Linked DNA regions of Homo sapiens: all the other regions are linked to region 1. The links are contacts of gene promoters, found by promoter capture Hi-C in blood cells and fetal thymus (Javierre and others, 2016). All regions are on one chromosome and are shown on one strand. The core of a region is centred on a gene start or on the middle of the fragment in contact, and the rest is flanking DNA. Distances in the headings are between cores, read along the strand shown.

Region 1 (2,700 bases), core at 156-2,655:
TAGGTGACGGGCCCCTGTAATCCCAACTACTCGGGAGGCTGAGGCAGGAGAATCGCTTGAACCCGGGAGGCAGAGGTTGCAGTGAGCAGAGATCGCGCCATTTCACTTCAGCCTAAGCGACAACGCGAGACTCCGTCTCAAAAAAAAAAAAAAAATCAGACTTCCACTTGAAGCAATTGCATCTTTTAGGATTAATGTGGCTCAGCGGAGCTCTGCTGTGCTTTTAGGATTACTGTGGCTCAGCGGAGCTCTGCACAAAGGGTCCGCGACTGGGATGGGGGTGGGGAGTGAACGTCAAGGGGCCCAGGAGCGCTCGAGCGTCCAAGGCCCGGCGTGTGGAGCAGCTGGAGGGTGAGTCGCCGCTCTCCGCTTTGGTTCTGTTCCTCCACGTTCTGACCGCGGTGCGGGGGAAAGGGAAAGTGAGTAGGGAGGGGCGGAGACGCCGGGCAGTGTTCCCGAAACCCCTGGCCCTCGCTGGCCCCGCTGCGGGGCTGGTTCCCTGAAAGCCGACGGGATGTGAAGCCCTCGACTCGGACAGAAGCCTCTGGAAGAGCGAGTGGCGGTTCGCAGGGAGGAGGGCGGCTGAGGGGCAGAGGGCGGCTCCGCCTTGCCCGGCGGTTCTGAGTGCAGCTGAACTGAACTTTCGGTGTCAGCGGGTGGAGCTGCGGCCCGCGGAGGAGCGGGGTCCGAAGCGAGGAGAGGTGGAGCTGCCGCTGACAAGGGGCGCGGCGACTTCTGTCAGGGCGCTGGGCTCCCGGCCGGACTCGCAGCAGCCCCCCGAGGGGCGGGGCCTGGGTCGTGTCGCCCCAGGGGATGGGCGTGTGATGACAAGGGGCGTTTCAGTAGAAGCCAGCATGCTTACCTCTCACGATCCAGCAGTGACATTAGGAAGGCGGAGCGCAAGGAAGGCGGGGCTGCCTTCTGTGCTGACCCGAGAGAAGACCAGGCTTCAGTCCACAGCGGGCGGAGCGGTCGCAGGCAAAGGGCGGGGCCATTTCGAGCCCTGGGAAGGCGGGGCGTCTCCTGACAGGGGGCGGAGCTTCCGCAGTCTGGGGCGGGGCTTCTGTTGACAGGGGGGCGGGGCGCCTCCCTACCTCCCGCGGTGCGCCAATCCCCGGACTAGGGGCCGGGGTCGGACCCCAGTGGAGTAGCAGGGTCTGGGCGTGGAGAGCTCGGCGCCGCACGGGGTGGGGGCGCGCGGAGGACGCGCGCGCGGGAGGGCCCCGCCTTGGCCGGCTCTCTCCCTTCCCCCTCCGCCCCCGGACGGCCGCTGGGGCGCGCGCCTCTCCTCGCACCCCCACCCTGAGTCCCCACACTCCGCGGGGCCACCGAGCTGCTGAGGCCCCTTTGCGGGCCCGCCGAGCGGTTCCGGGTTTAGGGTTCACAGGTCAGAGTTGACTCCCTGAAAAGTGCAGCCGGTTTGAAATGCAAGATGGCGGCGGCGTGGCGCTGAGAGGCGCGGCGGCCCCTGCAGGTAGTGGCGCGAGCCGGCTCCGCGACCAGCGGGCCCGGAGACTCTGGGCTGCGGGTGGGAACTGGAGCGCAGAGTCCGCGGCCGGCACGGGAAAGGCGAGTAGCGCGGGGCCTGGCGGGAGGAGGGCAGCCTCACAGCAGAGACCCCTGGGGCTGAGCCCGCTCGCGGCGGCGGGTGGCGGGGTGGACCCGGCGTGGGGCGTCCGAGGGGGAGGGACGGGGCCTGCCTCGCGGCTGGGTAGTCGCCGCAGAGGGACAGACAGACCCACAGCCTCCCTCGCTCTTTTTGGGTGTCTCCGCCACCGAAAGAGCTTGGGGGCGGGGGGCTCTCTGGAGGGAACATCTCAGCCCCCTGCCTTGGTGAGGACCCAGCAACTTAGGATTGTTGAGAGGAGTGAAGACTGCGTATTCCCAGCGGAGGGCGCCGCCGGAGGGAGCACCCCAGTAATGTTGGGAGTCCTAGAGGAGGTCAGGAGCGCTGTCCTCCGGGGGCGTGTGGCTGCCTCGTGGGGGACCCAGTCTCCCTGAGAGTAAGGAGAGATTCTCTTGCTGGAGCTGAGCGCACTGACTGAGGTTGGAGCCCCAGCAAACCCTTCAGGAGAAGTCTTTACCTCCAGTTCAAGGAAGGCTATGCGCACCCGTTTCGGGGCCAGGCCATGTCCCAACTTTGGGAAAGACTGGGAGTTGAGTCCTTAAGAACCATATTACGATTGTGACGAAGCCCTGGGATTTAGGGAGAAGTTAATTAAAGAGGATGGTAGGGGCGTGGGGGTGTGGGGGCTGACCCATGGGAATCCTCCAAGCCTTAGGGCCCACAGTGAACAATCTACTAATACCTCAAGGGGTATAAAAGGCTGGGAAGGAGAGGTGTGAGAGGAACAAGGTCTAAGGGCAGGAAAGAAGAGCCCTGGCAGATCCCCTTTCCTTATATATTTACACCAAAGTTGGAGGTAAAGGGACTTGGCAATTCTTTGTTTTAGTACCTTTCCTGTCCTCTCTCCTCCGTGGGTAACTGTAAGGAAAGAGCATAGCCCCTGAGAAGGAAAAGATTCCATTTGATATCCTTAGCTTAGGTTAGTGAAGGATCCAGCAGCTGGGAAGGCGTCAATGAGAGACAGCAGGCGGGGGAATTAGAACAGAGACTAGGGATGAGAAAAGAGGAATACAGGGAAGATATCGGACAGAGCAGGAATTCCACAGCCCTTTTCTGTCAACTCAGCCCAGCTA
Region 2 (2,737 bases), core at 75-2,574, 1.2 Mb before region 1:
AGATCTAGACCACTTAAATGAATTGTTTATTGTCTCTCCTTTTTTGCAAAGCTTACTTGGAATTTCGCATTTACAAGTTTTAAATGAAAAGGTCCAATGTGAAAGATTAAGCCTGGCAGCAATTATACCAGTCCCCCCTAGGTGAACTGCTCCAGGATGGAAAACTGGAGATTGCTTTTCAGCAGTTCTTTTTCATCTCCTTGCTAATGGAATGACTTTTACTTTTTGGTTACAAATGGCAAGGCCATGTAAATCTTGTCCTGCTTGCCGCTACTGGCCTGAACTTGGACATTCCTTTCTAGAACTTTGTCATTTCCCTTCTCTAGTGAAACATTTCTTTTGCTGAGTCCCCTATTGTGGTCTTTACTTTTGATTACCTAATAATCTTTTGGTTTCTGTGTTAACTTGGACAATTCTTCCCCGTGGGTTTAGGGACAGGCTTTACTTTCTTCCTTTATGTGGCTGAGAAACAAGGGACAGCCCTAAATGTTCTTGTCTAGAAACAGGGATACATCCCTTGACCCATGGCATATTTTTCTAACCAATTGACCATGTGGCTTCAGGATGACTCAGATGTTTCAGGGCAGTTGCAACAACTGCTCTTCTCATAGATGAAGACAATAAATTAACTTTGGGACAACATCTGGAGGTTTTGACCCCACACCAAATAACAGAGGCCCTAGAAGCTAAAGGGCACCAATAGATGAGTAGGGGATAGTTATTAAATTATCAGGCTTTATTGCTAGATACTCTTGATATAACTCTTAAAGTATAACAGAAGACCTTAATCCTAGCTACGTATCTACTTGGATCCAAAGGCACCCTAGATCATTCATGTACACAAGCTATGGAACAAATTTATTCCAGCTGGCAGGATTTAAAAGACGGGCCACTAGGGCTGGGTGTGGTGGCTCACACCTGTAATCCCAGTACTTTGGGAGGCTGAGGCAGGCGGATTACTTGAGGTCAGGAGTTCCAGAACAGCCTGGCCAACATGGTGAAACCCCATTTGTACTAAAAATACAAAAATTACCTGGGCGTGGTGGTGCACACCTGTAGTCCCAATTACTCAGGAGGCTGAGGGAGGAGAATCACTTGAACCCAGGAGGCAGAGCTTGCAGTAAGCCAAGGTCATGCCACTGCACTCCAGGCTAGAGACAGAGCGAGACTCTGTCTCAAAAAAGGATAATAATTTTAAAAAAGAATTAACATGTACACAAACTCCAAGTATGGCTTTCTGGTGCTTCATGCTCATGCTGCTATTTGGAAATAATGGGGACTCTTTAACTTCTAAGGGCTCCCCTATAGAACATTATTTGGGAATTTTAAATCTACTAGATGCTTCCTTGCTGCCTAAGGAAGTTGCTGTGATTCACTGCAAGGGACATCAAAAAGAAAACTCCAAAATATGCCAGGCACTGTGGCTCACACCTGTAATCCCAGCACTTTGAGGGGCTAAGGCGGGCGGATCATGAGGTCAGGAGTTCGAGACCAGGCTTGCCAACAGGGTGAAACCCCATCTCTACTAAAAATACAAAAATTAGTTGGGCGTGGTGGCTCGTGCCTGTAATCCCAGCTACCTGGGAGGCTAAGGCAGGAGAATTGCTTGAACCTGGGCAGCAGAGGTTGCAGTGAGCCTGAGATCGTGCCATTGCACTCCAGCCTGGGCAACTTGAGCAAGGCTCTGACTCAAAAAAAAAAAAAAAAAGAAAAAAAAGAAAAGAAAAGAAAGAAAGAAAACTCCAAAATAATAAAAGGGCATTCTTTTGCAGATGCTACAGCTGAGGCAGCTTCATTTGAGGGAACCAGTTAATCTGGTAGGCATGTTGGTGCCCACTGCCTTGGTGACGATAAAACTAGAGCATGGTTAATACTAGAAAAGAACAAAAATGGGCTAAGACCCATGGGTTAACTATAAGCACTTCCAGATGGCTAATTGATGAAAATGACAGATGATATGTACCAAGAGCTGATCAATGGAAAATAGTTAAGTATTGGCATGGCTCTACTCATTTGGGAAGAGATTTCTCATTTCAATTAATATGGCTCATCTGTTTATAGGGAAAGACTTTCTTTTTTTTTTTGAGACGGAGTCTCGCTCTGTCACCCAGGCTGGAGTGCAGTGGTGTGATCTCAGCTCACTGCAACCTCTGCCTCCTGGGTTCAAGCAATTCTCTGCCTCAGCCTCCCGAGTAGCTGGGATTGCAGGCATCTGCCACCATGCCCAGCTAATTTTTGTATTTTTAGTAAAGACAGGGTTTCACCATGTTGGCCAGGCTGGTCTTGAACTCCTGACCTCGTGATCCACCCACCTCAGCCTCCCAAAGTGCTGGGATTACAGGCGTGAGCCACCGTGCCTGGCCGAAAAGACTTTCTTAGAACAGTAAAACAAGTGACTTGGGCCTGTGAATTGTGTGCCCAAAAAAACCTCAAACAACCAAACTTTACCTCCTCCATTAGTAAAGCCTGTTCAGCATAGGGGGTCGTACCCAGAAGAAGATTGGCAAACACACTATACCCAAATGCCCCCATGTAAAGGATTCCAATATTTATCAGTGTTGGTTGATACCTTTCTTTACATGTTGGATTGAAGCTTTTCCTATCTGGCCTGAAAAGTCAATCAAGGTTTCTAAATTTTCATTCAAGGATATGATTCCCAGATTCAGGTTGCCTAAAAGCTTGTAGAGTGATAATGGCCCATCTTTACAGCAACAATAACCAAGACATAGCATCCGCT
Region 3 (2,700 bases), core at 50-2,549, 1.2 Mb before region 1:
TATCACATTTACTCTTGTCCCATAGAATATCCTGAATTGGTCCATGCAACAGGGCTAAATACACCATACCTGCTAGAGAACTTTTACATGCTATGGATCCCACTGAAAACTGGCAGATTTCTATCTCACCCAGTTTACGAGTCAGAACAGTACTGCCAACTTCTGAATTCCCACAGAAGCCTACACAGCTTGGTGTGCTTCCCTGGTGGCAGAATAATTTTGGTGAAATGAGTGGGTGAGATGCAATAATTTGTCCTTTACTGTGAAGGGGATATCTTGGCATTCAAGCAGCCTACTGGGCCCTAAAAGTTTCACTGAGGTAACAGCTTGCTGGGTCTTAAGGATTATTTCCCATCCTCCAGTGTACAGTATGCTAGCTGCTTATTATTCACCTTATCCAGCTAGCATGATGTCATCAATGTGGTAGGTCATTGTGACATTATGTGGGATGTTTAGATGGTCTAGATCTCTTCGGATTATGACGCAGTGTGGAAGAGTTAACATAACCCTAAGCCAATACTATAAATGGGTACTGCTGTCCTATATAAACACAAACTTAATTCTTGTCCAGCACTCTCAGGACCCAGTTCCATACACATGCTCATGGTTCCTGTTGGTACATGTTGGTTAGATCCTGCATCTCTTTGGTCATATAAGCCCATTTGGAATTGAAAGTAGACACACAGAATGAGGGCAAAACACCTGCAGAACAGCTGCTTCATCATGGTGGGCTTTTTTCATATTAGGTTTTGTTACCTTTGAGTTTTTAAATTATGTGTAAAGCTTCGATTAAAAAAATAAAAATTATTAAAAAGAAACTGAGACAGTCTATCCACCTATCTCTATTTACCCAGTGCTGTTGTTGTGTTACATAAAATTCAATTTTAGCTTCATGTTCATGCAATATTTTCGTTTACCCTTGATTCAACCTTGACCTTTAAAAAGCCAAAAAGACAAATACCTATTTTGACACTGGTTCTGATCTCTCTGAAATTCTGTGTGACCAATGGTCAAGTAACCTTGCAGGTTATTTATCATGTCTAATCTGAAAAAAGTCATTGTATTTACTAATATTTTAATATTCACCTTATAGGTAAGCATTCTAAACATGATTGTGGCAAGAAATTCTTATATGCTTTACATGTTGAAATTCTGTGTCAAATGAAGTACATATGTATATTATTGCAAGAGTGAATTTCTTCAGTAATGATTGTGACAGCTAGTAAATTTAAGTAGAAAGTAATTATAAACTTCCAAATACTTTTTTTAAATGGGCAAAATATATGAAACAATGGCCCTGAAGGCATTGGACATAGGCAGTGAAGGATAGTAATCCATGAGAGATGGAATGCAAACAAGGTGAGCAATACAATTGCTCCAACTTGCTGCCTGAAGAAAGGCTTTGGCATGGGGAGAGGGAACCCAGAAGACTCTGTGAGGTGAGGAGATATAAGTGGGAGTCCTGAGAGCCCAAGGCAACTAGAGTTCACAGGGTAGAATACTAGAGAGGACAGAGTGACACAGAGAGAACTCCAGAGATCTGCTGACCATTCTCCTGAAGTATTAAGCTAAATAATGATTAGTACATGCATGAGAGGAAATAACCAAAGGCTTGGCAAAGAACCATCAGAAAGGATTAAAGAAAACAATACTCAAAGCTCACACAGGATGGTGAATGATTCCTGATCCCGTCAGCAAGAGTGGAAAAGATCCTAATTCACAAGGCACCAGTTAGAGTACTAAGAAAGGTCTTGCTTCAATAGCGGGAAAAATTAACCCTCGACTAAATGCTCTAGAATAACCTAACAAAGCTTAAAAGAGAGACCCAAAAACATTCAAACTGTGTCCAAATAACTTAATCATACTCCAGAAGAAAGTTCAAACTGTTTTAGGGATATGAAAATAATCTACAAAGTAAAATTCACAATGGCTGGCATCCAATCAAAAATTACCAGGCATGCAACAGAAAAATACAACCCATAATAAGAAAAATAAAACATTCTGGGCTAGGTGCAGTGGCTCACACCTGTAATCCCAGCACTTTGGGAGGCCAAGGTAGGTGGATGACCTGAGGTCAGGAGTTCAAGACCAGCCTGGCCAACATGGCGAAACCCCGTCTCTACTAAAAATACAAAAATTAGCAGGGAGTGGTGGTGCTCACCTGTAGTCCCAGCTATTCAGGAGGCTAAGGCAGGAGAATTGCTTGAACCCAGGAGGCAGAGGTTGCAGTGAGATTGTGCCAATGCACTCCAGCCTGGGCAACAGAGCAAGACTCCATCTCAAAACAAACAAAAAATAAAACATTCTGTCAAAACTGACTCAGAAATTACAGATGATGAAGATTATTAGACAAGGACATTAAAACAGTTATTATAATTATATTCCATGTATTCAAGAAACCAGAGGAAAGACTGAAGATATTACAGACAATGAAGGTATAAAAAGACCCGTATCAAACTTCTAGAGATGAAAACTCCAATGTCTGAGATGAAAAATATGTTAGATGAGATTAATGGCAGATTAGATATTGCAGAAAGAAAGATCAGTGAACTTGAAGATGCAGCAGTAGAACCTCCCTGAAACAGAGAGAAAAAAGAATAAAATGAGACACACACCTCCTACCAAAATAAATAGAGCATCAGTAAAGGGTGGGACAACTTCAGGCAGCCAAATGCATGTGTATAATTGCAGTCCTTGAAG
Region 4 (2,700 bases), core at 74-2,573, 1.3 Mb before region 1:
ATCATCGATTTGTTTACATGTCCATTTTCCCCACTAATCCGTGAGCTGCTGCTGCTCAAAAATGGATTTACTAACATTTATATATTTAGCATAGAGCATAGAATCTGAATTGCAAATTCTGTCAAATCAATAAATAAATAAGGAAAACTCAAGGAAGAAACTAACAATCCCATCACATTGTACTTGGCCATCTTCCTGCCAAATCAAGAGAAGTATGTCAGTGATTTTCTAATAGTCACATATATGCAATCTGGGCTTCGAGGGTACCCTCTGTAATTCTTCCAGGCCTACTCCATTTTCCATAGAGTTTTTTTCCCAGAAGGCCTTCTTATAAAACTACGTTTGGAGAGTCGTAAGACTGGAGTGGAGGCGAGGCACTCACACATCTTGGGTTGTTAGCCCACCCTGCAATGAATTTAGGTGATTAAAATCTACACATTTTAACACTATGTTCTCAGACTAGTCTCAGACGGATAGAGGTCGAAAGAGAATTATGTAAGAGGTGAAAAAGATGTAAAGGTAATGAAAAGGACTAGATGAAGCTAAAAAGAGAAAAGCTAATGGGAGGGGTGGGAGAATGATGATGCTTTGGAGAAAGACCTAAATTTTAACCCTGGCTCAGACACTTAGAAACTCTATCACCTTGCGCAAGTTACCAGCTGTGCTCATCTTCTTATCTGTAAAATAAGCTTAAGATAATTCCTAACTCCTAGAGTTTTGCAGACTGAAGAAAATAATGCATAGTTTATTGCTGTTAATATTGGAAAGGAGAAGATCGTGAAGAAAACGATTGAGCGAGCGCTGGACCCATGACAATTACAATTTTAGGCACTTTCCTTTATTTCACTTAATTTTCCTGCGACCCTCTGCGCTGGTCGTGCGTCCGTTTTACTAAACAAAAAGCTGACGCCCAGACCCGACAAGCAACTCTACAAGGTCTCCCGGCCATAAGTGGCGAAGCCTGGATTTGAACCCGGGTCTACCATAGGATTCTGTGAAGCGAGAGGCCACCTTCCAATTCCGTTCCCGAAGTCCTTGAACCTCCAGGTACCCAGGGGCCTCTCCACCTCCATGGGGCCCCGAGGGTCACCTCCCCGAGTCCTGGGTCCCCATCCCTTACCTCTGGACGCACCACGACTCGAGGTGGCGTAGCGCCCGCTTATAAAGCCGCAACACCTTTTGCTGATGGGTCAGGTAGGGTCCCGACGCCAAGAACGCCATTACGGCGCTGACCTTCCCCGGCCGCGCGGAGAGCCGGGAAACTGCACGCCTGCTGCGGGTGACTGAGCGGGGCCAGCCGGAAGGGCGGAGTTGCCGGCGGCCACTTCCGCTTCCGCTGGGGAGGTCCTCCATGCGCAGTCATGAGTCGCTTCAAGTTTATCGGTAAGAGGAGCGTTTTCCACGCCCTTGGGTCTTTCTGACTTGTCCCGGGCGTCGGTCACCAAGGTCACAGGACCCAGGAATTGCGCCCTCCGGCATTGTAAGGGTTGAAAGGGCCGCTCAGTGGAGGAGGGCGCGGGGAGGTTTCTGGGTGCTGGTAATGCTCTGGTTCTTGATCTAGGTTCTGGATTCACGAGGGTGTATTTATTTGTAAAAATTAACAAGCCGTACAGTTATGATTTTTGTGCTGTTTTCAACATCTGTAATGTATTCAGTTTTTTAAGAAGAAAACTCCAAAAAGGCCAATCACTATGTTTCCATTCATCCCACGTGCACCTCCCGGCCCTTCCCCTCTGCCTTGGCGGAGAGGCTGACCGCTTCTGGGGACCAATTCACTCAAGCATTCATTCGTTCATATCATAGTTAGTGAGCGCCTCAAGTGGGCCTGGCACTGGCCTAGGAACACAGGGCACAAAGCTCCCAGTTGTACTGTCATCACCATCTGGTGGAGAAACTAGAAAACACAAGTAATGGGGAGAAAAACAAACTGTACTTGGCAAGTACAATGATCCAGTCGGCATCAGTAGAACGAGAGGGAGAATGCTGCGGGATTTAAATGGGCATGATCCTCGTTTTGTGGGGTTTCCAGCTACCTGAAGGTGGGAAATGACAGTGATCACACCTCTGCTTTAGCAAGGTAATCCTGATAGCTATTATGTAGGTTTTGTGGGAAATAGGGAGAGGTAGGGAAGCATTTCAAGAGCTTAAACTAGGGTAATGGAAAAGAGAGAGAAATGGAAGAGATGTGTGCAGCATTTAGCAGCTGAGTGTTCATGGCCGGTAGTAGAGAGTGAACAAAGATGACTCAGGGTTTGGAAAAGTACTTAAATATGAAATGGAAGCATGACTAGTTTGGCGGTGAAGAGAGGTACCCAGGTCCATTTGGATTAGGTTAAGTTTGAGATAATTATAGGACATCCAGGTAGAGATATCTGGGCAATTGGGAATGTGGTCTGGCAATCAAGAGATTAGGATTATACATTTAGATCTGAGAGTTATTTAAGCAGTATTTTTTTTTTTCAAAGACGTTGTGCTAAGTCCTGTGGAACTGTAAAATCTAGTGGTGCAGTTTTCAGACTGGAGACCTAAGACCTATGTACTGTACAGTCAAAAGCAAATGCAGGGGAGAATATGTTAAGTGCCAGGAAAAAGGTTTTGAAATTGCTGTGGGAAAGCCTGGAGTAGGGGTTTGGGGAGGGGTTGTCAAATAAGACATTGCCGTGTCTTAGCCTTTCCATCCTAACCTTTGATATAATTGAT
Region 5 (2,700 bases), core at 153-2,652, 1.1 Mb before region 1:
GGGGGGGATGGGGTGGTACTCCCATGAGCCTGAGACTGAAATAGCTCTGCAGAGGATTCCAGTGCACACTAGGGAATGAAGGGGGTTTCAAAGACAAGGAAGATATACTTTATGCACTCAAAAAGCTTTCATTTCCACAGAGAGCATTCTTAATTGTTGTTATTACATCACAGAGGCATCACCTTGGAATTTAAAAAAGAAGCGATTCCTTTCAATGTTTAAGAGACATCAGTGTTTCTCAAGCTTTCGTGTGTGTTATTACTGGAGGGCTTGTTAAAACCCACATGACTGGGTCCAATGTCTACGTTCTGATTCAGGAGGTGTGAAGTGGGGTCCACTATTTCTCACGTCTAAAAAGCTCTGGGACACACTTTGAGAACCAGAGTTAGAGAAGTAGGAGGCTTTAGTGGTAACAATCCTCCATTATTCAGTTTAATATTCTACTTACATGTAGCACATTTACTACCTACAAGTTTCCGGGCTGAGTGCAGCACTGTTTATGATAAGGATGGGATTTAGATCTTGATTACGCTCCAGCAGATTTATTAAGTGGATTTATTCTCTAAGGGTGCCTAAGCGTCATTAGACAGGTTCAGATAAAGCAGAGATCTCCTCCCTTAGAAGAGATTAGGGACAGCTTAATGAAGTAGGAGACCTTTCACCTGGGCCTTGAAAGATGCCTAGGACCTGGATCAGGGGAAATCGTGGACAATCAAATTATTCTTCCCGCTTTAGCACAGAGACAAAAAAATCACAAGCAACCACTAGGAAAGGTCTATGACATTCTTGCCTCTGCCTCTAGCATTAACAATTTGCATGCCAGCTGCTGGAATCTGAACGGGGAGGACTGTTCTCGTGTCAAGGGCTCAGTCTCAGACCCTCCTTGGGCAGGGGTGGAACTGGCTTCGCTTTCTCTTTGGGGCGCCCAGAGCGACTGCATTAGAGCCGGCCTGCTCGGCCGAAGCGGCGGTGGGCGCTGACTTGGCGAAGGGCGCAGCTGGGGCGCTTCGTTCCGGAGCAGAGCGCCGTGATCCCGTCGGGGCTGGGGTGGCAGCGCAGCTCTCCGCCTGTCCAGAGCGGGGCCGCACGCCGGGGCACCTTTCAGAACAAGCTCCAGATGTGGCCCCAGGTTGGGGGCCGGGTGGCAGCTGTACTACCCTGGCGGGCGAGGGGTCCAGAGCTCGTTTTCCCTATTCCGATCTGTAGGTTTAACGCCAGCACAGGGTGGCGCACCCTACCTCCTTCCACCTTCACGCACCAGCGCGGGAGGGGACGCGTGTGCACGCTCCTCCCCTAGGAGGGAGGGCGGCCCGAGAGCCTGCAGACTGCGCCTGCGCAGCCTCGCTCACACACCTCCCCGCCCCCCCGCACCTCCTTCCCCTTTCGCCCCGCCCCGTTCCCACTTCTGCTGCCGCTAGGGGTAGCGGCGGCGGCGGCGGCTGCGGCTCGGGAGCGCGGCTGCTTTGAGGGCTCGGGAACCTTACAGAGTGGGGACGTGGGGAGGCTAGAGGGTGAGAAAGCTGGCGGGAGAGTAGGGCGGCGCTGGAGGAGGGCGGTGCGTGGCTGACTCATCCTCTGGAAGATCAGACTGACAGAGACACACACTAGCCCGCCCCGCCCGCCCGCGCCGCTCCTCCTCAGCCGGGAGGCGCCCGCCCGCACCGACCGCCCGCCCTCTCCGGGCGCTGTCCGGGCCCGGCCGTCTCAGAGAAAGTTTTTCCCATCGGAGGGGCGGGAGCCGCCGCGGGCCTTTTGGAAAGGAAGTGGGGACGGAACAGGAGGCGAGAGCCGCGCGGGCCCGCGGAGTGCATGGTGCCCGGCGCCTCGGCTGCCTGGCAGGAGGACCTCGGGGCGGGGTCGAGCTGAGCCCAGCTCCTTCTCGCCTCAGCCGCGCCAGAAACCGCCTTGCCGGACGGCCGCGGGGGTCCCAGCTCCTCAGCTCGCCATGTCCCGGCTGCTGCCGCTGCTGAGGAGCCGGACCGCGCGCAGCCTGAGGCCGGGCCCGGCCGCCGCCGCCGCGCCCCGCCCGCCGTCCTGGTGCTGCTGCGGGCGGGGGCTGCTGGCGCTCGCGCCCCCCGGCGGCTTGCCGGGCGGCCCCAGGCGGCTGGGCACGCACCCCAAGAAGGAGCCCATGGAGGCGCTGAACACGGCGCAGGGCGCGCGCGACTTCATCTACAGCCTGCACTCCACGGAGAGGAGCTGCCTGCTCAAAGAGCTGCACCGCTTCGAGTCTATTGCCATTGCCCAAGGTAAGGGGGGCAGGTGGGGGGCGAGCCCGGGGGCCCCGACGCCCTCCTCTTCTCGCCAGCCCACCGGGAGCCCGCTGCGGCCCTGGATCTTGGACCCCCGCCGCCGCCCCCCTTCCGCCCCCCTCGCCTGTCTGGCCCCACGCCTGGGACGGCTGGGGGCGGGGAGACTTTCCGCCGCCCGAGTTTCCCCCAGGCAGGTAGGACGGGCGCGGGTCGTGCCAGGCAGCCGAGGCCAGCGCTAGCTACTTCCTCCCCAGCCTCCGAATCCGGAGCTTCGGCCTAAAATGCCAGTTAACGCTGTTGGGATTGAGTTTTGATTTGCCCCGTGCCTCCCCTCCCCAGCCCTCCTGTCCCTTAGCCCTTGCTGCTTTCTTGCGAGCGTGCACCCGTGCAGGTGGCATGCTGTGCCTGCTCCGAGAAAGTGCTGCAAACCCGCCTGGCAGGAAGAAAC

What was found. The method cuts DNA at HindIII sites, captures the fragments that hold promoters and counts their contacts. A CHiCAGO score of 5 or more calls a contact.
Region 2: a fragment that was not itself captured here is called in contact with the fragment with the promoter of ZHX1 in region 1 in 7 of 17 cell types (total B cells, fetal thymus, neutrophils and 4 more); the score reaches 9.1 in total B cells.
Region 3: a fragment that was not itself captured here is called in contact with the fragment with the promoter of ZHX1 in region 1 in 1 of 17 cell types (naive CD4 T cells); the score reaches 5.0 in naive CD4 T cells.
Region 4: a contact is called between the fragment with the promoter of TATDN1 here and the fragment with the promoter of ZHX1 in region 1, in 1 of 17 cell types (monocytes). The highest score is 5.7, in monocytes.
Region 5: the fragment with the promoter of TMEM65 here is called in contact with the fragment with the promoter of ZHX1 in region 1 in 2 of 17 cell types (total B cells and fetal thymus); the score reaches 5.6 in total B cells.

The regions. Positions count from the first base shown.
Region 1 is chr8:123,272,991-123,275,690 of GRCh38, reverse strand. ZHX1 (zinc fingers and homeoboxes 1) reads left to right here and starts at 1,405. Exons shown (of 4, transcript NM_007222.5): 1 at 1,405-1,474. ZHX1-C8orf76 (ZHX1-C8orf76 readthrough) reads left to right here and starts at 1,405. Exons shown (of 6, transcript NM_001204180.2): 1 at 1,405-1,474. RefSeq lists an enhancer at 55-174 and silencers at 655-1,344, 1,545-1,744, 1,781-2,148. The HindIII fragment of the contact is 9,533 bases long and covers 1-2,700 here.
Region 2 is chr8:124,445,204-124,447,940 of GRCh38, reverse strand. No RefSeq gene overlaps it. Among named protein-coding and RNA genes, the nearest start is that of TYW2, 4.2 kb to the left of the region's middle. The HindIII fragment of the contact is 2,542 bases long and covers 54-2,595 here.
Region 3 is chr8:124,462,388-124,465,087 of GRCh38, reverse strand. RNF139-DT (RNF139 divergent transcript) reads left to right here. Exons shown (of 2, transcript NR_108047.1): 2 at 1-2,595. Among named protein-coding and RNA genes, the nearest start is that of RNF139-DT, 11 kb to the left of the region's middle. The HindIII fragment of the contact is 1,028 bases long and covers 786-1,813 here.
Region 4 is chr8:124,537,708-124,540,407 of GRCh38, reverse strand. TATDN1 (TatD DNase domain containing 1) reads left to right here and starts at 1,323. Exons shown (of 12, transcript NM_032026.4): 1 at 1,323-1,383. The coding sequence starts at 1,362. It overlaps NDUFB9 (NADH:ubiquinone oxidoreductase subunit B9), which reads right to left and starts at 1,285. Exons shown (of 4, transcript NM_005005.3): 1 at 1,121-1,285. The coding sequence starts at 1,221. RefSeq lists an enhancer at 1,393-1,462. The HindIII fragment of the contact is 3,000 bases long and covers 692-2,700 here.
Region 5 is chr8:124,371,403-124,374,102 of GRCh38, reverse strand. It overlaps TMEM65 (transmembrane protein 65), which reads left to right and starts at 1,402. Exons shown (of 7, transcript NM_194291.3): 1 at 1,402-2,249. The coding sequence starts at 1,946. RefSeq lists enhancers at 840-1,029, 1,241-1,535 and silencers at 1,260-1,489, 1,610-1,879, 2,010-2,139, 2,190-2,319, 2,330-2,379. The HindIII fragment of the contact is 4,556 bases long and covers 246-2,700 here.